Linked DNA regions of Homo sapiens: regions 2, 3, 4, 5 and 6 are each linked to region 1. Evidence: promoter capture Hi-C in human tissues and cell types (Jung and others, 2019). All regions are on one chromosome and are shown on one strand. Each heading gives the region's core, a stretch centred on a gene start or on the middle of the fragment in contact. The rest is flanking DNA. Distances are from core to core; before and after follow the strand shown. Region 1 holds the start of UBE2I (ubiquitin conjugating enzyme E2 I). Region 2 has its middle 12 kb from the start of HS3ST6. Region 3 holds the start of RHOT2 (ras homolog family member T2). Region 4 overlaps MEIOB (meiosis specific with OB-fold). Region 5 holds the start of WFIKKN1 (WAP, follistatin/kazal, immunoglobulin, kunitz and netrin domain containing 1). Region 6 holds the start of HAGH (hydroxyacylglutathione hydrolase).

Evidence for each region. The method cuts DNA at HindIII sites, captures the fragments that hold promoters and counts their contacts. A contact is called where the count stands out against the background at its distance.
Region 2: a fragment that was not itself captured here is called in contact with the fragment with the promoter of UBE2I in region 1 in 1 of the 25 tissues and cell types used here (dorsolateral prefrontal cortex).
Region 3: the fragment with the promoter of RHOT2 here is called in contact with the fragment with the promoter of UBE2I in region 1 in 4 of the 25 tissues and cell types used here (dorsolateral prefrontal cortex, lymphoblastoid cells, mesenchymal stem cells and 1 more).
Region 4: a fragment that was not itself captured here is called in contact with the fragment with the promoter of UBE2I in region 1 in 4 of the 25 tissues and cell types used here (H1 embryonic stem cells, IMR-90 fibroblasts, aorta and 1 more).
Region 5: the fragment with the promoter of WFIKKN1 here is called in contact with the fragment with the promoter of UBE2I in region 1 in 1 of the 25 tissues and cell types used here (dorsolateral prefrontal cortex).
Region 6: the fragment with the promoter of HAGH here is called in contact with the fragment with the promoter of UBE2I in region 1 in 2 of the 25 tissues and cell types used here (IMR-90 fibroblasts and dorsolateral prefrontal cortex).

The regions. Positions count from the first base shown.
Region 1 is chr16:1,307,668-1,311,611 of GRCh38, reverse strand. UBE2I (ubiquitin conjugating enzyme E2 I) reads right to left here and starts at 1,976. Exons shown (of 7, transcript NM_003345.5): 1 at 1,839-1,976. RefSeq lists enhancers at 855-1,466, 2,168-2,407 and silencers at 1,438-1,627, 1,828-2,127, 2,618-2,907. The HindIII fragment of the contact is 23,762 bases long and covers 1-3,944 here.
Region 2 is chr16:1,928,740-1,932,370 of GRCh38, reverse strand. No RefSeq gene overlaps it. Among named protein-coding and RNA genes, the nearest start is that of HS3ST6, 12 kb to the right of the region's middle. The HindIII fragment of the contact is 5,872 bases long and covers 1-3,631 here.
Region 3 is chr16:666,882-669,409 of GRCh38, reverse strand. It overlaps RHOT2 (ras homolog family member T2), which reads right to left and starts at 1,278. Exons shown (of 19, transcript NM_138769.3): 1 at 1,174-1,278; 2 at 999-1,057; 3 at 841-922; 4 at 711-754. The coding sequence starts at 1,210. WDR90 (WD repeat domain 90) reads right to left here. Exons shown (of 41, transcript NM_145294.5): 40 at 2,421-2,505; 41 at 1,580-1,978. The coding sequence ends at 1,821. RefSeq lists silencers at 811-900, 1,001-1,100, 1,161-1,500 and an enhancer at 886-1,567. The HindIII fragment of the contact is 52,780 bases long and covers 1-2,528 here.
Region 4 is chr16:1,851,051-1,854,928 of GRCh38, reverse strand. MEIOB (meiosis specific with OB-fold) reads left to right here. Exons shown (of 14, transcript NM_001163560.3): 7 at 729-829; 8 at 1,658-1,710; 9 at 1,795-1,890. Among named protein-coding and RNA genes, the nearest start is that of MEIOB, 19 kb to the left of the region's middle. The HindIII fragment of the contact is 5,559 bases long and covers 1-3,878 here.
Region 5 is chr16:628,915-632,399 of GRCh38, reverse strand. WFIKKN1 (WAP, follistatin/kazal, immunoglobulin, kunitz and netrin domain containing 1) reads right to left here and starts at 1,415. Exons shown (of 2, transcript NM_053284.3): 1 at 976-1,415. The coding sequence starts at 1,146. It overlaps RAB40C (RAB40C, member RAS oncogene family), which reads right to left. Exons shown (of 6, transcript NM_021168.5): 6 at 3,132-3,485. RefSeq lists enhancers at 1,322-2,056, 2,237-2,531, 2,057-2,790. The HindIII fragment of the contact is 11,828 bases long and covers 1-3,485 here.
Region 6 is chr16:1,824,651-1,828,290 of GRCh38, reverse strand. It overlaps HAGH (hydroxyacylglutathione hydrolase), which reads left to right and starts at 1,466. Exons shown (of 9, transcript NM_005326.6): 1 at 1,466-1,579. The coding sequence starts at 1,504. FAHD1 (fumarylacetoacetate hydrolase domain containing 1) reads right to left here and starts at 1,085. Exons shown (of 1, transcript NM_031208.4): 1 at 1-1,085. The coding sequence starts at 1,052. The coding sequence ends at 387. RefSeq lists an enhancer at 866-1,055 and a silencer at 1,146-2,115. The HindIII fragment of the contact is 9,774 bases long and covers 1-3,640 here.

The DNA.
Region 1 (3,944 bases), core at 727-3,226:
CCTGCTGAGGACTGGACAGAGCCGCCTAGAGGCCCCCGTCCCAGCACCTAGCTATTGCTGTCTCAGGTGTGAGAAGTCGTGAGGGGTGGTCCTGCGAGACCTCCTGCCAAGACCTGGCTGCTGCTGCTGTGTCCCCTGCCCCAAAGCACTCAGCACCACGGGGTGGTCTCACAGGCACTGCACCGCCAGGGCAAGGAGCCACAGGTGCACACCCACCGTGTCCCAGACAGAAGCCAGGCCCCTCCCCCTGCACCCCCTCCTACTGGCCTTCTGGAGAAAGCGGCCAATCTGTTACAATGTAATCACAACACAGATCAAGCGTTCAAAATTCCGCTGAAAATCGAATTTGCCCTTCCAAATTCACAGATAGGCACTTAGTGAACGGCTAGTAGTTACTAAACGCTTCAGAGCAAGAAACTTTTATGATGCAAAGACAAAAACAACCCTCATCTATTAGAGCCAGGCAAGGCCCAGACACTGCAGAAACGGGGACAGGGCCGGGCACTCCAGGAGCGGCCCGAAAGTCTGCCTTCTGTCCTCCTGCTGGGCGCCCGCAACCGGCTGAGCTTTAGCTTCTCGGATCACCGCCTTGCTCTGCTGGTTGACAGCACCGACTTCAGAGCAACTTCCTGGCTGAGGGTGAGCAAAGCACTCACCTCCCACAACTCCACCGCACTGATCTCCACAACGGGTGGTCGCCACGACAGGCTGGCACAAGAAGCCTTTAAAGGCCCTCCTGCACCCAAATGCAAACTCTCCCAGGCTTGGGGAGGTATTCCCTTCTGCAAGACCCAAGCACCTGCAGTCGGGAGACGCTTACCTGGCCGCACCTGATCTGCCCCAGGCCCCGAGAATGTTTCTGAAGCAAGATCCCAAACCCTGAGACACCATACAAGCGCACACCAGCAATCACCCAGTGGCCTAGGGAACGGACCTCTCTGAATGAGCAATCAGGGCAAACTGAGGATCCGTCCCGTCTTCCGTTGCATAGGTTCTCTACCCAAAGGCAACGTTTCTTGAAGAGCAAGAAACACTTGGGGTAGGTCCTGTAAAAGGAAACAAACCGAACTCCCCAAAGACAGGCACTTTGCAAACAGAGAAACTAAGCGTAACTTCCAATTATACAAACAAAACCACTTCATTCTGCGATTCAAGCGTGACTACAGGCCACGATCACAAGCCCAACTAATCATTCCCTTACATTCCTCCTACGCACGTTAACTACCAGAACCAACTACTATTCAACCGATAAAAAGAGATGTCCAAAACAGAATAAAACTCCCCCTCCAGCGAGGCGCTCACGTTCAGGGCCCCAGCAAGCGCCAGCGGAGCATCTTCAGAGGCACAAGAAAACTTACACTTGTTTTGGTTTTAAGGCACCGAAAACAAGCCCGCTCGCCGGCCCCCACCCCCGCGAGCCAGCGATGTTGCAATCCAAGACTCTCCCCCCGCGGCCCATCCTATCCGTCCGCGGGGCGACCGTGACCCCGGAAGCCGCTCCCCGCGCAGGAGGAAGGCGCGGCCTCGCGGGGCCCCGGCTGCAGGTGGCTGCCCCGGCCCCGCGCCAGGCGCACCTCGGGGGCGAAGTGGGGGAGCCCCGGCCCCGAAGGCCTGCGGCGGCCCGGCCGCTCGGGCCGCAGCCCAGCGGCGCCAGCAGCGCGGACCGAGCCGGCGCCGAGCGCGGGGCCTCTCGGGCTCCCCGGAAAGCTCGGCCGCGGCGCGGGGCCCGGCTCGGCGGGGCGGGGCGCGGGGCAGTCGGGGGCCCGGGCCCAACAGGAGTAGAGGCCTCGGCCCGACCCCCGCCCCGCGGCCCCGGCCCGGCCCCCGCACGCGCTCACCTCGGGCGGCCGCAGCCCCGGCGAGCGTAGCGGACAGGTGGAGGACCGAGCGGGGCGGCGGCGGCGGCGCTTCCCTTTGTCTCGGGACTTCCCTCCGGAGCCCGCTCCGCGCGCAGCCAGAGCAGCTCCGAGGACCCTGGCGCGGGCGGGGCGCGCGGGGCGGGGCCTAACGCGGGGCTGCCCTCTGCACGCCTGCCTCGCGCGCCGCTCCTGCCGCCCGGCCCCGAGCGCCTCCCGCGCCGCCGAGCGCTCCCCGTTGCCCGCGCCCCGCCGCCGCGCGCCCGCGCCCCGGGTCCGCCCCAGGAGCCCGGCCGGGGGGCGACTTTCCAGTCAGGCGGCGCCCTGGACACCTACGCCCTTAAAGGAGCCGCGTCCCCGATGTGAGGGAGCGTCTGTAAACTCCCCTTCGGGCTGCCCGCGTCCACCCGAGGACACGCCGGCAAGCAGCGGGGGAAAAAGGAAGCCGAGATCTCCAAAGGCTCCCCGGATGCCTGGCGGTCACCTCTCCAGCCACAGGTCCCGGAGGTTTCCTTGGGGTCAGGTCCTGGGGCCGGGGGTCAAAGACCACTGAGGCCTAAGGATCCTCTGAAGCGTCGCAGGACGGTGACGCTCCCGCGAGTTCAGCGCCCTGTGAAACCCCTTGCAATTGGCCAGTTCGGGGCGGTAGGCGGGGACACCTTCTCATCCGCCCAATGAGCTGACCCCGTACAAAAGGCCGAATGCGAGCATGACCGACGGGAGGAGAAGTGTGGATGCTCCCTAAACCGGGGGCTGGCCCTGGGCCGGGGCGCGGGCGGGACGTGGGGGACCGCGAGCGGCGGGGGCGGGGCGAGCCCGTGGGGGAGGGGCGCTTCCGGTCCCCCCTCCCGCCCACGCAACAAGCAGGACCGGGTCGGGAGGCCCCCAGACCCGCGAGCGCGCGGGACAGTCCGTTCGCCAACGCGCGACCGTGCTGGCCCCCGGGCTCTCCCGGCCCCCCCGCCCGCATTTCGCCGACGGCGGGGCCGCAGCCAAGGTCACGGTGTCCGGGTGCTTGGGGACCGCGGGGAGTGACCACATTCATTCATTCCCTCCCTCACTCATTCATTCATTCCCTCCCCTACTCCGTCATTCCCTCCCTCACTCACTAATTCCCTCCCTCCCTCACTAATTCCCTCCCTCCCTCATTCATTCGATCCCTCCATCACTCAATCATTCCTTCCCTCTCTCACGCATTCCCTCCCTCACTTACTCATTCATTGCCACCCTCACTCACTCATTCCCTCCCTCACTTACTCATTCATTCCCACTCACTCATTCCCTCCCTCACTCACTCATTCCCTCCCTCACTCATTCCCTCCCTCACTCACTCATTCCCTCCCTCACTCATTCCCTCCCTCACTCATTCATTCCCTCCCTCACTCACTCATTCTCACTCTCACTCATTCCCGCCCTCATTCATTCATTCCCGCCCTCATTCATTCATTCCCACCCTCATTCATTCCTTCCCTCCCTCACTCATTCCCTCTCTCATTCATTCCCTCCCTCCCTCACTCACTCATTCCCTCCCTCACTGATTCCCTCCCTCACTGATTCATTCATTCCCTCCATCACTCATTCATTCCTTCCCTCACTCATTCCCTCCCTCACTCATTTCCTCTCTCATTCATTCATTCCCTCCCTCCCTCACTCATTCCCACTCTCACAAACTCATTCCCTCCCTCACTTACTCATTCCTCCCTCATTCATTCCCTCCCTCATTCGTTCATTCCCTCCCTCATTCATTCATTCCCTCCCTCCCTCATTCCCTCCCTCCCTCATTCATTCATTCCCTCCCTCATTCATTCATTCCCTCCCTCATTCATTCCCACCCTCCCTCATTCATTCCCTGCCTCCCTCACTCATTCCCTCCCTCACTCATTCATTCCCTCCCTCCCTCACTGATTCTCTCCCTTATTCATTCCATCCCTCACTCATTCCCTTCCTCCCTCATTCACTTCCTCCCTCACTCATTCATTCACTCCCTCCCTCATTCATTCATTCCCTCCCTCCCTCACTCATTCCCTCCCTTACTCATTTATTCCATCCCTCACTCATTGCCTCCCTCCCTCATTCCCTCCCTCTCTC
Region 2 (3,631 bases), core at 568-3,067, 620 kb before region 1:
CTTCCCAGGCACAGGGCCAGGCAGGGGCCTGGGCTGTGCTGCCTTCTCCCAGCACTCCCAGCTCTGCACCTGGGGCCAGTGTTTCCCCGAGAGTGGACTCAGGCCCAAGAGCAGACTGGCCTTCGCCTGCAAACTGGGCCCCTGTGTGCAGGGTTTTGTCCCCAGGGCTGTCTACCAGGCTCAGGCCGGTAGCTGGGTGGCTGGAGGCCTGCTGGCGCCTGGGGATCTCAGCCACAGCAGTGCAGGGGTGGTGATCCTGGTGGGGGCTGGGGAGTAGTGCCTCCTGCCTGCATCCCAGGGCCCCAGGCTCATCCAAACATCCATGTTAAGGTGGTGGGCCGGACACAGTGGCTCACGCCTGTAATCCCAGCACTTTGGGAGGCCGAGGCAGGTGGATCACCTGAGGTTATGAGTTCTAGACCAGCCTGACCAACATGGAGAAACCCCATCTCTACTAAAATACAGAATTACCCGGATTACCCGGGCGTGGTGACCCATGCCTGTAATCCCAGCTGAAGGGGAGGACTGCCCCTCCACACCTGTGGGTATTTCCAGTCGGGTGGGACGAGAGACTGAGAAAAGAAATAAGACACAGAGACAAAGTATAGAGAAACAACAGTGGGCCCAGGGGACCGGCGCTCAGCATACTAAGGACCTGCACTGGCACCGGTCTCTGAGTTCCCTCAGTTTTTATTGATTATTATTTTCGTTATTTCAGTAAAAAGGAATGTAGTAGGAGAGCAGGATGATCATAAGGAGAAGGTCAGCAAAAAACATGTGAACAAAAGAATCTATATCATAATTAAGTTCAAGGGAAGGTACTATGCCTGGATGTGCACGTAGGCCAGATTTATGTTTCTCTCCACCCAAACATCTCAGCAGAGTAAAGAATAACAAGGCAGCATTACTGCAAACATGTCTCACCTCCCACCATAGGGTGGTTTTTCTCCTATCTCAGAACTGAACAAATGTACAATTGGGTTTTATACCGAGACATTCAGTTCCCAGGGGCAGGCAGGAGACAGTGGCCTTCCTCTATCTCAACTACAAGAGGCTTTCCTCTTTGACTAATCCACCTCAGCACAGACCCTTTACAGGTGTCGGGCTCGGGGACGGTCAGGTCTTTCTCATACCACGAGGCCATATTTCAGACTATCACATGGGGAGAAACCTTGGACAATACCCTGCTTTCAAGGGCAGAGGTCCCTGCAGCTTTCCACAGTGCATTGTGCCCCTGGTTTATTGAGACTGGAGAATGGCAATGACTTTTACCAAGTATACTGCTTGTAAGCATTTTGTTAACAAGGCACGTCCTGCACAGCCCTACATCCCTTAAACCTTGATTTCATACAGCACATGTTTTTGTGAGCTCCAGATTGGATCAAAGTGGTTGGGTCAAAGTGGCTGGGGCAAAGCTACAAATTAACAACATCTCAGCAAAGCAATTATTTAAAGTACAGGTCTTTTTCAAATGGAGTCTCTTATGTCTTCCCTTTCTACATAGACACAGTAACAGTCTGATCTCTCTTTCTTTTCCCTACACCAGCTACTCGGGAGGCTGAGGCAGGAGAATCGCTTGAACCTGGGAGGCTCAGGCTCAGCCTGGGAGGCTGAGGCTCAGGGAGGTTGTGGTGAGCCGAGATGACACCATTGTACTCCAGCCTGGGCAACAAGAGCAAATCTCCGTCTCAGGAAAAAAAAAAAAAAAAAGATGTGGTAGGGAGGTGGGGGTGGGAGGGGGCAAGTGGGCTCAGGAGGTGGGGGGGGTGCCGGCAAGCAGACTGCTTGAGTGGGGAGACGGGTGAACCGCAGGACCCCAAGGCCCCCTCACATTGAGAGTCCAGGGAGGGATGGCTGTGGGCAAGGTCTGTATGCCAGGTCACCGGAGGAGGGGGTGGTGTTTCCAGCAATGGAGCGTCTGGTGTGGAATCAGTCACCTTACCCTCCCGCTCCTGCTGGGTGATACCCCATCCTTGCGGCTGCCCCCGCGTCTTCCTTGAGGAACAGCAGACTCTGAGGGGGCAGCCCCTTCCTCCCCAGGGCACGGCCTTGCCCCTCAAGGGTTGGGTTCAGGGGCAGCGGGCAGGCCTGGGCACGGCTGGGCCGTCACCTCGGGCGAGGGATGGGGAATAAAAAGGAACTCTGTCTGAGACACCGTGATCCCTCGCCGGGGCCCAGGCCTGGCTCAGAGCAGCCACCAGGAAGCGTCTGCGGCCCGTATGGGGGAACAGACCATACTTCAGACCCTTGCTCAACCACCGCTTTCCGCTCTCTCAGTGGCAGGTGCCGCGCAGAGCCTGGCCCTGGTGGGGCTGTGGCCCCTGGTGGGGGTGGGGGCCGTGGGCAGCTCCCGGGAGGCTCCTACCCGCGGACGGGTCGGCAGGTGGGAGGAGGGGGCGTCCGGTAGGGTCGGCGAAGGCGCCGAGGCCACGTGCAAGCCCCGGCCCTCGAGGCGGCCTCCCGGGCCCGGGCGCGGGACCGTGCGCAGGACTGACCAGCAGGGGGCACGCTCGCTCGGTGCTGCCAGGCCGGGTGGTCTGCGTGCGCAGGCGCGGCGGGGGGCCTGACGGCGCTGCAGTTCCCCGGGTGGCCGCGGGGGTTGCGGCGGAGGCAGCGAGCGTCCGCGCAGAGAAACCGCCTCGGCCACGCCCGCCCTTGGGCCGGTGCTGGGGACCCAGGCCGAGGCCTCTGGTCGTCTGAGGGTGCCAGGGGCAGCTGCAGGGGGTTTGCCGGGCTTCACGAAGTGACCGCTACAGGGAGTGCAGTCGCAGCCACGGGTGCCCCTTCCAGGGTCACCGGAGGACAGAGCCAGGGGCGGGGGCGGGGGTGGCGCGGCCGGTGGGAACGGCAGGCGTGGTTGGGGGCGCGGGTGGAGGCAGGACGCCCCCAGCCCCTTCTTCAGGGCAGCTGCGTGGGACCCAGGCTGCCCGGACCTGGCCCGCCCTCAGGGCTAGATCCTAGGGTTCCACATCCCAGGCCTCTTTCCTCCGCCCACCTCTCCCCGCTACAACCCAGGCAGCTCCTGGCTGCCTTCCCCCAACCAGAGTCCTCTCTGCAAAATAATAACCAGACCAGGTCCCTCCCTCAGAGGTTCCCACAGTCCTTGCCTGCTCTGACCTAGGCTGACCCCACCTCTCCAGCTTGATTTCCTACTCCATAAATGAGATCGGTGTTGTTTATCATAATTACAGTTTGGGGTTGTTTCTTTTTTTTTTTTTTTTTGAGACGGAGTCTGGCACTGCCGCCCAGGCTGGAGTGCAGTGGCGCGATCTCGGCTCACTGCAAGCTCCGCCTCCCGGGTTCACGCCATTCTCGTGCCTCAGCCTCCCGAGTAGCTGGGACTACAGGCGCCCACCACTGCGCCCGGCTAATTTTTTTGTATTTTTGGTAGAGCCGGGGTTTCACTGTGTTAGCCAGGATGGTCTCGATCTCCTGACCTCATGATCCGCCCAGCAGGGCCTCCCAAAGTGCTGGGATTACAGGCATGAGCTACCGCGCCGGGCCTGGTTGTTTCTTCTTGAGAAGGGGGTTTCTCTGTTGCCTGGGCTGGAGTGCAGTGGCATGACCATGGATCACTGCAGCCTTGAATTCCTGGACTCAAGCGATCCTCCCAGGTCAACCTCCCGAATAG
Region 3 (2,528 bases), core at 29-2,528, 640 kb after region 1:
AGCCTTCCCTAAAACCTGCCTCCAGCCTGGTGTTGGCAGAGCAGGCACTCCCCAGTGTCACACTGGGAGCTGCTGCTGAACCCTCAGAGAAGCCTCTTCCCCGCCCACTGCCAGTGCAGGGACACCAGGCCCCAGAAGCATAACTGTGGTCAGCAAGACCCTTGGAGCAGAGGGCTCAGGACAGACACGGCCACACCTGCAACCCAACACCCTGCAAGACAGCCGCCGCCTTGGCCCCTGCCTCCCCCCTCGCTACAGACAGAGTGACAGGACCGCAGTGAGGGGTGCCAACAGCAGGGGCTGCCCTGGGTGGCTGTGGCCTGTGCCCTTGCCTGGAGATGTCCCCGGCACACGTGCTCTGGTACTGGGAGCTCCGGGTGCCCGGAGGCCGGGACGGTGGGCTGGAGCACACAGCACGGGGACGTGGCGCACACAGAGCCCACAGGAAGAGCAAACGCTGCTGCCACCCCGGCAGGAGGGAGGGAGAGCCCGCGGGGAAGGGTCCTGTTATCCCTGGAGCACCACTGGACTGAGCGGTGCCGGCTCCCAGCGGGGTGCGCTGTAGGGGCCCCGACAACCCTCAGTGCGGAGGTCACAGAATTATCAGGGCCAAGGACACCCGGAGCACCTCGGTCCAATCCCCCAGGCTGCGAAGCGGATTAGGCCGAGCCCGCGCCCAGCCCCTCCCTCGTCCCGCGCACCACGGGTACCTTGTGGATCTCCTCCCGCAGCTCCTCGTCCGTCTGCTCGGCTTCTAGGGGGACAAAGAGACTCCACTGCGGACCCAGCAGGCCCGCCGGACCGCTGCGGGCCGGGCCCCCGGGAGGCTACGGCCGCTACCTGAGTAGTCCACGATGTGGGTGGGCACCTTCTCCGGGGTGACGTCCGCGGGGATGGTGATCTCCTCCGCGCGGGGAGGGACCTGCAAGGGACCCGCGCGCTCACCAGGGACCCCCGGCTGGGCCCGCTCCCACCCCCGCGGCGGGCGTGCCCCTTACCTCCTCGGGGAACTCCTCGCCCACCAGGGACAGGATCAGCGACGTCTTCCCCACCTGGGCTGCGCGGGGCGAGGCGGTCAGCGCGAGGGCCAAGGTCACGGCGCCCCCCGACCCCCGAGACCCTCACCCCGCCTCACGGCCGCCGCAGCTCCGAGACCCCCGGGCCGGCGCCTACCCTCGCCCAGTAACAGGATGCGCACGTCCCGCCTCATAGCTGCCGCCCGGAGCCGCTCCCCGACCCGGAACCCGGCCCCGACCTGGTCCTCAAGCCTTTCGCTCTGCCCCCGCGCCCGCCCCGCACTTCCGGTTCTCGGCCCCGCGCTGTCCCCACACTTCCGGCCCCGCCCGCACAGCCGCACCAGCGAGCCGGGCGGGCCAGAGCGGACAGGCTGTGCGGCGCGCCACCGTGTGGACGCGCCGGCCACGGCGGACAGCGCAGGGTCCTGGCGCCCTGGCAGGCCGAGCGGCCATTGCTTCACGGCACCACAGGGGCCTTGACAAACAGCCGATTAAGGGACGGGCAGAGGCTGAGCTCAGGCCAGGAGTGACCAGAGACAGCCAGTGCAACAATGCAGCAATAATGCAATAAATGCCCATGTTTATTACAAGATAGAAACATTAAAGATTTCTTAGGCAAAAGGGCAACAGGTATGAAAGTATTCACAGGGCGCCAAATTTACAACAGCTTGCTCCAGGCGATTTACGTGAATCCTGGCCTGTCCCAGCATGAGGCCATTGACAACCTGGCGCCTCTGCCAAGCCTGTGTCCAGGTGCCTGGCATGACCAGGCGTGATGCCCACCACCACAGTCCCTGCTGCATCTCAGAGGCCGGGGACCTCCCACACAAGGATCTCGTTGCGGGCGGCCGTGAAGAGCAGCCTGGCGGACGGTGTAAACCTGCACAGGTGCACTGCGTTGTCGTGGCCGGCAAAGTCTTGGGCAGTCCCCATGGCACAGTCTACCAGCCTCAGCATGCACTCTGTGGGTAGACGGTGCAGGTGGGCCAGGGCCAGGACCAGGCAGCACTCAGAGGGCTCCCCCAACCCACCCAGACTGTCCCCACTGGGCATGATGCTGGTCGGGGGAGCTGGTGCTAAAAGGGCTCCTGGCTGTGCCCTCCACGTGCCACTGGGACTAGGGGGTCCATCACTGCCAGGCTGTCGGCCTGCAGCTGGGCCAGTTCCCTCCTTAAAAGTCGCTGCCACCCGTGCATTCAGGCCCTGTGCTGGGCGCTGTGCCTGGTTCCTCACCTGCCTCATCATCTCCTGACTCCAGGACCCTCTCTAGGGCAGATGTCCTCACCCCACCCCAGAGACGAGGAGCCCGGGGCACAGGTGAGGCACCTGTCTTGGAACAGGGCACCAGTCAGCCCACTTGGCCCCCACCTAAGACAGGCCCAAACTGCATCCACCAGCACTCACCAGCAAAGCCAACAGCCAGGAGGTGGGTCCCGGGGGACAGGCTCAGGGACATGGCAAAAAAGGGCAGTGGTATCTTCTCCACCACCTGTGAGCAGCCAGCGTGAGGCT
Region 4 (3,878 bases), core at 1,069-3,568, 540 kb before region 1:
GCTGTGCATCTCTCAGAGGTGCCTGCCGTTCCCACATGAGAAGCCACTGGGTGGAGAGAAGGGTCCTAGTTTCAACTCTTCTTTTTTTTTTTTTTTAACTTGCTTTAATGGGCAAGAGGATTTCCACTTCTTTGATCATCTTACCCCACAATGGACAGAATTGGACAGTGTCAAAGTTTCCTGTGTATCTCGCATGTGGCTCTCACCATGGTAGCCCTGTGGAGAAGGCAAAGGACATATCCTATATTTGTTTGTTTCCTGTGGACACTTTTTATACCACAGATATGCTGTATTTGATGTTCACTAAGAAGACGGAGGTGCTGAGCCCCAGAGAGCCTGAGTTCATTCAGTCACATGAGTTCCACGCTGAGCCATGGGGATACAAAGGTGCTGGAAACACAGTCCCTGCCCTCGAGGAGTCCACGTAGATGCCCCAGAGGGGCCTGTCATGGAGCTTTGTTGTGACATGTTAAAAAGACTTTCAGTCTCTACTTCAAGCACCTGTCTCCCTGTGTCTCTTCAAAGTGTTGTGTGACTTACAACTTCAGCTACGTACATGTAGTTTAGAGATAGATGCTTTAAAATAATCAACTATATATTACTGGTTCTTGCTAGTTTAATATTTCTAATTTGGTGTTTAAAAGGTGAACATTTGAGTATTTTCATCAACAAATACTTAAGAACTTCTACATATAGGTGAAGAGTAATGATTTATTTCCATTTCTAAGGTTGGAGAGCCAAAATACTTTACAACTTCAGACCGGAGAAAAGGCCAGAGGTGTGAAGTTAGACTCTATGATGAAACAGAGTCGTCTTTTGCGATGACATGGTAAACACCGATGTCTGTTCCAAACTGTGAAATCCCTGTAGTTATCACCAGGACATTTTCATTTTATCAAAAATATGATGGACTTCATATCAAGAGAGGATAATGATAGGAGATGAATGATATTTTAAAAAATAAATCTCACTCTTGAATGTTGAGTTGTTATGGATACCACCTTAAAATGAGGTCTTTAGATGGCATGGAATTGCTTAGGGGGACTCCACCGTGCCCAGTTTTATTATTGAATTCTGTCGTGTAACAAATGATGTTTTATTAGGTCCCATGGAACAAGCCAGAGTTTCCCTCTGTGCTTCCTGGGAAGTATCCTGGAGCAGGGCAGGACACAGGGGCACGTGGGCCAGGGTGGGGACTGCACCCTGAAGCACTGCCAGGTACAACAAGGCATTGTCTAGACCTCTGATGCCTGGGTACCAAAGGAACTGATTTCAAAAATGTCTTCAACCCATCAAGGCCCCTGAGCAGTTTATCCACTGGGGGACACTCACCTTCATGGTCTGAAAGTGTGAGTTTAAAGTCTTCAGGCTTTAGTTCTAACTAGCCTGGAGTGATTAAGTGTTGGAAAAATAAATTAAGAATTGGCAGAGCAGAGTATTACTAGAGGAGAGTGTGTGTTGAAGGAATGTTCTCTCATGGAGTTGTTAAATTCTCCCTAGGAGGAAGCTGGCATGCTTAAGACTAGGAGGTCTTTGACCACCTTGGGGATGGCTGACCCCAGCCACTGAAGCTTTCTTTTATTGTTGTAAATAATATGTCACTATCAGTTTTTTCTAGTGTATTCAATTTGTATTACTTCTTTTTAAACAAATGCAGTTGGGATAATGAATCCATTCTACTTGCACAGAGCTGGATGCCACGAGAAACAGGTATTATCATTCAATGATTGTGTCCAATATTTGTCATTTATATCCTCCCATGTAATAATTTTAAATGGCTTTTTTCCCAAACAGTAATATTTGCCTCAGATGTAAGAATAAATTTTGACAAATTTCGGAACTGCATGACAGCAACTGTAATCTCAAAAACCATTATTACAACTAATCCAGGTAAAAAACTTTGTGAAACCTTTTATCCCTTTGGAAATGACTGAACACATTTCAATATTTATACAGTATATTTAAGAATGAAAATTCAGCCTGGATTTAATTCAAATTAGAAGTAAAAATTGCTTTATATAACTTTTTTAAAAACTTACAATGAACTTTGATATCTTTACTAAAGAAATGTGAGGTCGGACGTGGTGGCTCATGCCTGTAATCCCAGCACTTTGGGAGGCCAAGGCAGGTGGATCACCTGAGGTCAGGAGTTCAAGACCAGACTGGCCAACATGGTGAAACCCAGTCTCTACTAAAAATATAAAAATTAGCTGGGCTTGGTGGTGGGCGCCTGTAATCCCAGCTACTCGGGAGACTGAGGCAGGAGAATCACTTGAACCCAGGAGGCAGAAATTGCAGTGAGCTGAAATCGCGCCATTGTACTCCAGCCTAGGCCACAAGAGCAAGACCCCGTCTTAAAAAAAAAACAAGGCTGGCGCGGTGGCTCACACCTGTAATTCCAGCACTTTGGGAGGCCAAGGTGGGCTGCTCACGAGGTCAAGAGATTGAGACCATCCTGGCCAACATGGTGAAACCCTGTTTCTACTAAAAATAGAAAAATTAGCCGAGCGTAAAAGTGTGCGCCTGTAGTACCAGCTACTCGGGAAGCTAAGGCAGGAGAATCACTTCAACCCAGGAGGTGGAGGTTGCAGTGAGCCGAGATTGCACCACTGCGCTCCAGCCTGGCGACAGAGCGAGACTCCGTCTCAAAAAAAAAAAAAAAAAAAAAAAAAAAGTGAAAAACCAGATTAATTTTAAAGTATAATTCATTGTGATAATTTTTGAGAGATCGATTTTATTGCTTGGATGCTAAATTATTGACTAATAGGTAAATTCAGTTTTGCTACATTCAAATAACTTTTACTGCTAGGACATTGATAACACATGCATGCGTGCACACAGTACTCTCTGTGTAGTATCATTAGCTCATAACTGCACATTAAATGCCCAGATGATCCCCTGGAGTGGTTGTTGAAGGAGTTACAGTTTATTACAGCATGAAATCAAGGAAGCCAGATTGGGGAGATGAGGGATTAGTGCCTGTGAGCATTCCCAGGGTGCTTTATAGTGCAGACATAACCGTCAAGCCAGTACTGCTAAAGAAATGGAGTAATCAATCCTTTGCCATCTCATGAAGCTATGAGTACAGTATGTAGTGTATCATTTAAAACATACGCTCACGCTGCTGGTCTGTAACAAAGCATCAGCAGTGACAGAATTATAAAGCAATGTGTGCTTTTGACCAAACCATTATCAGCATTTTTAAAAGATAGAATTACTATGAGGAATGGTGTAAAATACTGAGACTCTGGTTTTTATATGAGTACTCTGAATCTTGCACATCCAACACATGGATGTTGTCTCCTTGAAGGCAGCACCATGGGAGGAGATGTGCATGCCCCGAATTGCTCTTCACTGAACTAATTTACTGAGCATGTGCTGTATGCTGGGTGCTGTTCTGGGGTGCAACGACAAAATGGATAAATATTTCCACCCTCATGGAGTTTACCCTCCAGCAGGGAGAGACAGAGAATAAATAATGAAGATAATATGTCCGTGAATTATGAAATATTTAAGGAGAACAGGTGGAACAGAGTCAGGAGGACCTAGAGAGCCACAAGGTGGTCGGGCACGCTGCATGGGAGAGTGACGTTTGAGCAAAGACTTGATGAGGAGGCTAAAGGGATAACCAAGGGAAAGCCCTGTGCCTATGTGTGGGAGGAACACCCAGGGGCTGGTGTGGCTGGAGCCCAGGAGTTCAAGGCCAGCAGGAGCTGTTCTGAGAAGAGATGGGGCACCCAGGAAGAAGGCCTCGGAGGCTGTTAGAGTGCACTGGCTTCTGCTCTGGATGGGGTAGCAGGCTGGGGTTTGGAGCAGAGCGGTGACAGCATCTGACTCGGCTCTGAGAGGTTTGCTCTGACTGCTCTGTTGGAAATTGA
Region 5 (3,485 bases), core at 166-2,665, 680 kb after region 1:
GGCTTACCTTCCAGAATCCTCACACCCACAAGCAAGTTCCGTTATTCTTTACGTTGTACAGACGAGGAAACTGAGGCCCAAGGAGGGCGTACAGTGCTCAGGACCACCCAGCAGGTGGTGCGGGCCAGGACAAAGGCTGGACATCGGCTGCAGCACCCCCACCACCATCTGCACTGGTCCCGGATGGAAGGAGGGTGGGAGGACAGGGAGGACAGTGGATGGAAGGAGAGGGTGGGAGGAGAGGATGGAAGGAGAGGGTGGGAGGAGAGGATGGAAGGAGAGGCAGTGACGGGGTGGGAGAAGAGGATGGAAGAAGTGGATGGGAGGAGTGGATGGGAGGAGTGGATGGGAGGAGAGGGTGGGAGGAGAGGCAGTGAAGGGGTGGGAGAAGTGGATGGGAGGAGAGGATGGAAGGAGAGGCAATGACGGGGTGAGAGAAGAGGATGGAAAAAGTGGATGGGAGGAGTGGATAGGAGAGGATGGAAGGAGAGGCAGTGATGGGGTGGGAGAAGAGGATGGAAGAAGTGGATGGGAGGAGTGGATAGGAGAGGATGGAAGGAGAGGCAGTGACGGGGTGGGAGAAGAGGATGGAAGAAGTGGATGGGAGGAGTGGATGGGAGGAGAGGGTGGGAGGAGAGGATGGAAGGAGAGGCAGTGAAGGGGTGGGAGAAGTGGATGGGAGGAGAGGGTGGGAGGAGAGGGTGGGAGGAGAGGCAGTGACGGGGTGGGGGTGGTCGCCGAGGATGATGGTGCCCCAGGGTGGAGGCACATGGGGAGCATGAAAGCTGGAGTGGGGAGGGCTCTTATTCTTAAGACAAATGAGGGCAACGATGGGGGTGTCTCTGGGCCCCTTAAGGGGCCCAGACCCAGACCCCCCAGAAGTCTGGGGAGCCCAGGCAGAAGGTGGCACCTCCAGCAGGGTCTTGCCCAGGCTGGCTGCTCTGAGCCCCAGGACCCCGGCCCGACCACACTCACCTGGTCCCTGCTACACTCGCGCTCACAGGTGCTCTGGGCGTCCACCCACAGGTTGGGGCTGAGCTGGTTGGGGCACACGCCCGGGTGGCTCCCCAGCCCTGGCAGCAAGCCAGCCCCCGAGGTCAGCCGGAGGAGGAGCAGGAGCGGCAGGAGTGGACGTAGGGCGGGCATGAGGGCCGCCGAGCCAGGGGGCCGGGGGGTGTGGCCACCAGCCCCTCCTCGGGCTCCACAGAGCCCAGCTTCCTGCAGGCATCCACCCTCCGGGCCTGTGGTCGGTGCCCCCACCAGGACCCCGGGGCTCCCTTTTGCCCCTGAGGCTGAAGCCTGCAGCAGATGCTTGTCCTGACACCCCTGCTGGGTGGGTAACGGGGTCTCCAAGTTCTCAGAGGCCGTCTGTGTGACGCTGGTTCCTCTCCAGCTTCAGCCTGGCCCCTCTGTCTGAACCGTGCGGGGGCTCCCAGGCCCTGGTCAGCACAGGGCAGAGGGGAGGAGGTTGGGGAGGGGCCAGAGGCCCATGAGCACAGAGCCACTGGCCATGAGGGTCACCGGGGCGGGGAAGGGCTGGCTCTGGCTGGAGAGGGGGAGGGGAGGGGACCCTGTAACCTGAACCCCTTCGTCCACCCCTGGGCTGAGATCAATCTCCTTGACGACCCTCAGTAGGGTGGGGGCAGGGCCAGCAGATCCCAGCTTTTGTCCCTGGCGCCCTCTGGACCCCAGGCTCCTATGCCATGGGGGTGGCAGGCACGGGCCCTCCCCGCAGAGCGTGGCTGACCACAGCCTGGGTCCCCCGGGCCAGGTCCAGGCTGGCAACGGTCACGTGCGGCCGAGGGCTTCACTCCGCTCCGAGGTTCCTTCCCCCCTCCATGGCTGTTTCAGGGGCACAGGGGTCTGCAGGACGCCCAGCACAGCCCGGCCTCCTCTGCTCTGCTGCCCCTGTTGGAGTGGGGCCCAACCCGGCAGGACTGCATTCCCAGAGACCCCATCCCTGAAACCAGGCAGCGGGCTTGGGGCTCAGGCCTGTCCCCAAGGCGGGGCAGGTGCAGCAGGAAGAGGCCTGTGGCCACCACAAGCATAAGAACAGCCCGAAACGCTGATGCCGGAGCCTCGGCCCACGCACCGTGTAGCCCTGGACGTGGCTCCGCGTGGGATGGCACCGCCCGAGGGAAGGCCAAGTGCAAGGGCGTCTGCAGCTGAAAAGAGCAAGTGTCCCAGGGCACCAGAGCCTTGCCCTGCCCCAGCCCCCCGTCGGCGGGGCACACATCCCCAGGCTGGCTCCTCTTCGTTGGGGAGGGCAGGGGGCTGGCCTGCCTGGTGCAGCAGGACAAAAGGCTGCCTGGAATCTACCCTTCCAAACCCTCTGTGGCTCCAGATGTCTGGGGCCTCAGGGAGTGGTTCTCTTGAGACCGGATGGGAGTGTCCCCCTGACCCTGTGTCTGACCTCTGACCCAGGAGGCAGGGTAACAGGAGCCTGGTCTGGTCAGAATGAGACCCGGAGACGGCTCCAGGCGCCAGTCCCTGCTCTACAAGGAGACTGGGGGTGGGCCCTGATAGCGTGGGGGTGGGGGTAGCTAGGCCAGACCCAGCAGCAGGCGGCTGGGCTGGAGCTGCCAGGGAGGGGCTTAAGGCCCGGACATGCCCACGAAACAGCACAGGGAGGCACCTGAGCCAGAGGCTGTGGTCTGGTCCCTGTACCAACTGGAGTGCCCCGTTCCAGCTCAGCTGTGACCTCCGGGGCGTCCACACCCCCCTGGGCCGGGCATAGCAGACACCAGATTGGCCAGCGTGCAGGCGGCTCTGCTGAGCGGGCCGACTGACTGGAGGACCTGGCCCTCTGGAGTCCTGCTGCTGTTGGGGACAGTCCGCCCCAGGCCATCTGCTGCCGGGGACTGTGAGCGAGGGCTCAGCACAGCCCAGCTGGGATTCCATCCACCGGGAAGAGGAGAATGGCCGTGACCAGGCCCAGCTGCTCCAGCCCAGCTCCAGCCCTCACTTTGAGGCGAACCCAGCCAACCGCGGCAGGTCAGCCCGGTCAGCGCAGGGAACAGCAGGCAAAACAAAGGCCAGAGGTCAGTTTGCCGGGTATGAAGCAGCACTGGCCCCTGGCACGGGGCACCGCCACTGCCAGACCCACCCCACCAGACACAGCAAAACGTGGGGACCACAGCTGAATTACATTTACTGTACAAAGAACGGTTCGGAGAGAACCAGGAATGGCGGAGTGTCTAACAGCAGCGCGGGTAGTGTTGATGCCGTGAATGCAGGACCATCCAGGTCCTCAAAGTCTGTGAGGTTTGTTCATAATCCCAAACAAGGGCCCTGCTGGCAGCAACAGGACAGGTGGGGCCAGGACAGGGAAGCTGGAGCAGGAGGCCAGTGTCTTTGGGGGCTGTGGCAGGGCCGCCTGCCTGGGGTTCCCTTACTCATCTGGTAGTTCATGCAGGCCACGGCCCTCATCTCCCAGGAACGGGCCATGGGGCGAGTCCACTGGTGCCCAGTAACACCCTCCGTGG
Region 6 (3,640 bases), core at 217-2,716, 520 kb before region 1:
TTTTTTTTTTTTTTTTGAGACGGAGTCTCGCTGTTGCCCAGGAGTACAGTGGCGCAATCTCAGCTCACTGTAAGCTCCGCCTCCCGGGTTCAATTGATTCTCCTGCCTCAGCCTCCAGAGTAGCTGGGACTACAGGCGCCCGCCACCACGCCCGGCTAATTTTTTGTATTTTTAGTAGAGACGGGGTTTCACCCTGTTAGCCAAGATGGTCTGGATCTCCTGACGTCGTGAGCCGCCCGCCTCGGCCTCCCAAAGTGCTGCGATTACAGGCGTGAGCCACCGCGTCCGGCCAATAAATGGTTTCTAATTAAAGGATTGTGACATTTAATAGCCGTTGCTTGCTCTTGTCTTGCTCCCTTCTCTCTCGAAACTTGTTAAGAAATAACTCAATATTCTGGCTTTTCCACTTTAAATGTCATACTGACCAGCCCGTGTATGCCAGCCTCGATCTCATCGTTTTCTTTAACCGGTCCAACTCCCTTTGGCGTCCCAGTCAAGATAATATCTCCTTCTTCCAAGGTTATGATCTTAGAAACATAGCTGATGATGTAGGGGATGGAAAAAATCATGGAGGATGTCTCACCCTCCTGTCTGAGTTCGCCGTTGACCTTGAGCCAGAGCTTCAGCTTGTGAGGGTCAGGGATCTTCTCCTTGGGCACGAACGCGCTGACCGGGCAGGACGCCGTGAAGCTCTTCGCCAGAGTCCAGGGCAGCCCCTTCTTCTTGCACTCGTCCTGCACGTCCCGGGCGGTCATATCCAGGCACAGGGCATAGCCGCCCACGTAGTCCATGGCCGCAGCCTCGGGGACTGCGCGGCAGCGCTTGCCCATCACCACGCCCAGCTCCAGCTCGTGGTGCAGGTTGCGAGTGTACGCGGGCATGAGGATGGGCGAGCCCTCGGGCGCGTAGGCCGTGGACGGCTTCAGGAACAGCACGGGCTCGCTCAACACCGCGCTGCGCATCTCCCTGACGTGGTCCGCGTAGTTCCTCCCCACGCAGACGATGTTCTTTCCCCACTCCCAGAAGCGGGACAATGGCCTGGATGCTGCCATGATTCCCATCAAGTGCCCCTGTAGTCACGTGGGCTGGGCCGGTCAGCTGATGCCTACGGCATCCCGGAGAGGACCAACTGCCTCGGAACGCTGTCCCCCGCAGCGACGGCCCGTTCCACCTCGCGATCTGCCGGGTACCCGGGCGGCGTGGCGCTCGGCCTCCAGGGATCCACTGTGCGGTGCCAAAAAAGAGGCGGAGGCTCGCGGCACAGCTCTCCCGGCGCAGCTCTCGGGCCGCCGCCGCCGCTCCCAGGCCCGTCTCCCGGCCCGTGGCAGTCGGGGCTCGCGGACAAAACAAGTTGAGCGCGAGCGCGTTGATTGGTTGGCGGACGGTGCGAGGTGGACGCTGATTGGCTGAGGGCAGCGCGAGGCGGGCGCTGATTGGCTGCGACGCGCCGACGCCGGTGTTTTGCAGTCCTGGGCAGCTCGGCAGTCCAGCCCGGCCCGGGTCATGGTGGTGGGCCGAGGGCTGCTCGGCCGCCGCAGCCTCGCCGCGCTGGGAGCCGCCTGCGCCCGCCGAGGCCTCGGTGGGTGCGGCGGGGCGGTGCGGGCCGGGGGACGCGGGCCTGGCGGGGCGGGCAGCGGGCGGCGCCGGGCCGTCGTTTGGCGACCGCTGACGCGGTGTCTGTTGCGCAGGTGCCTAAGGCCGCGCTGCCGGGCTCGAGCGGAGGCGGCGCAGGCGCTGAGGCTGGCGCGGAGCGGGCGCGGGGCCGCGGGTGCGGAAAGCGCTAGGTAAGCAGGGCCAGGCCTGCGTCCGCCGCGGCCTCCACGCTCGGGCTGGGCCGGCCGCGCCCCTGACGCCTCCAGGGCATCGCGTCCTGCCCGGGCCGGCGCCGAGGAGAGCCTGGGGCGCGGCTCTGAGGCGCAGCGGGCAGGGCCCCGGGACGCCTGGCCCACCCCGCACCTGCTGCCCCGCTGCAAGGACCGCGGTCTCGCGGCGCCGCCTGCGGTGGTGGAGCTGCCCGCCCGGCGCCGGAGCCCCCGTCTGGGGACCCGGCGTGTCATTCGCCCGAGGTGGTCGCGCGGCCGGGCCAGGCCAGCGCCCCGGGCGGGTGCGCAGCGCAGGGCACTGGGCGGGCGGAGGCGCAGACAGGGAGGCGTCCCTGGCGGTTTCCAGATCTCGCCGAAAGCTGTCAAGGCTCTGCAGGGGGTAGAATGTCGCCATTGCTAAGGAAAGGACATGGATTTTGAGGTCCTCAGAATTACAGTTTTAGGGACATTCATAAGGGTCCAGGCAGAGAGTTCCAGCGGGACTGTGTGCATCGGCAGGGCGTGCGTACCCCATTCTAAGGGAGGCCCCAGCCCCCGTATTTGGTGCCGCCCAGTTCAAGGGAAGCAAGATGCTGTGAAACTTCCTGATTTAAAAAAGAAGTGCAGTGACGCACGCCTGTCATCCCAGCACTTTGGGAGGCCGAGGCGGGAGGATCGCTTGAGTCCAGGAGTTCCAGACCAGCCTGGCAACATGTTGAGACCTCATCGCTACAAAAACTAAACAAAATCAGCCGGGCGTGGTGGCACACAACTGTAGTCTCAGTCACTTTGGAGGCTGAGGTGGGAGGATCGCTTGAGTCCAGGAGGTCGAGGCTGCAGTGACCCTTGATCGCACCACTGCACTGTAGCCTAGGGGACAGAGTGAGACCATATCTCAATTTTTTTTTGTTTTTGGGGCCAAACCGAACATGTTTCTGGACTTGGTCCAGGCCCCAGGCTGCAGGTCCTTGACCTGTTTGTACAAAGTATTACAGTTACAAAACAGCAAGCCGGGAACATTTGCCAGGCAGTGCTGGGCTGAGTGATATGGAAAGGGAATACGGTTTCTGCTGGTGTTGGCACCAGCTGCGTCTTTCCTCAGAAATAAAGGCACCTCCCTGGGTTGTCAGCTTCTTCAGGAGGCTGTGATGGTCTCCAGGGGAGGCTGAGCACCAGTTGTAAATGACATTTTCTTCGCCTGGGCAGTGCAGTGGCCAATCTCGGCTCACTGCAACCTCTGCCTCCCGGGCTCAAGCGAGTCTCCTGCCTCAGCCTCCTGAGTAGCTGGGACTACAGGCGCTCGCCACCACGCCCAGCTAATTTTTGTATTTTTTAGTAGAGACAGGGTTTCACCATATTGGTCAGGCTGGTCTCGAACTCCTGACCCCGCGATCCGCCCGCCTCGGCCTCCCAAAGTGCTGGGATGACAGGCGTGAGCCACCGCACGTGGGCAGTATTTTTGTTTGTAATGTTCTGCTCCTTGTTTGTAATGGAGCTCCTTTCCAGGAGGACGCCCGGCACTCGGAATCCTGTCACAACCCTTCTGCACCCCACCTGCAGCCCCCAGCACCCACACTCTGCTTGTTGTGCTCCTTGGGCTGGGGTGGTGCTGAGGCTAAGGGGAAGGGGAATAACACAGGAAGCTGCTCATATAGAAATCTTGGTATTATTGTTCCTGAGGAGAATGATCTGGAAAATGCCCAGCTGGTTGTCAGGCGGGTAATAGGATATCTTTGTGCAGTGATTGAAACTATAGTTTGGGCAGTTTCCCCGGCTGTGGAAATAAGGTCGGATTCCGCATTTCGGTGGGCCCTGGAGACGCGTGTGTCTGTCAGTTG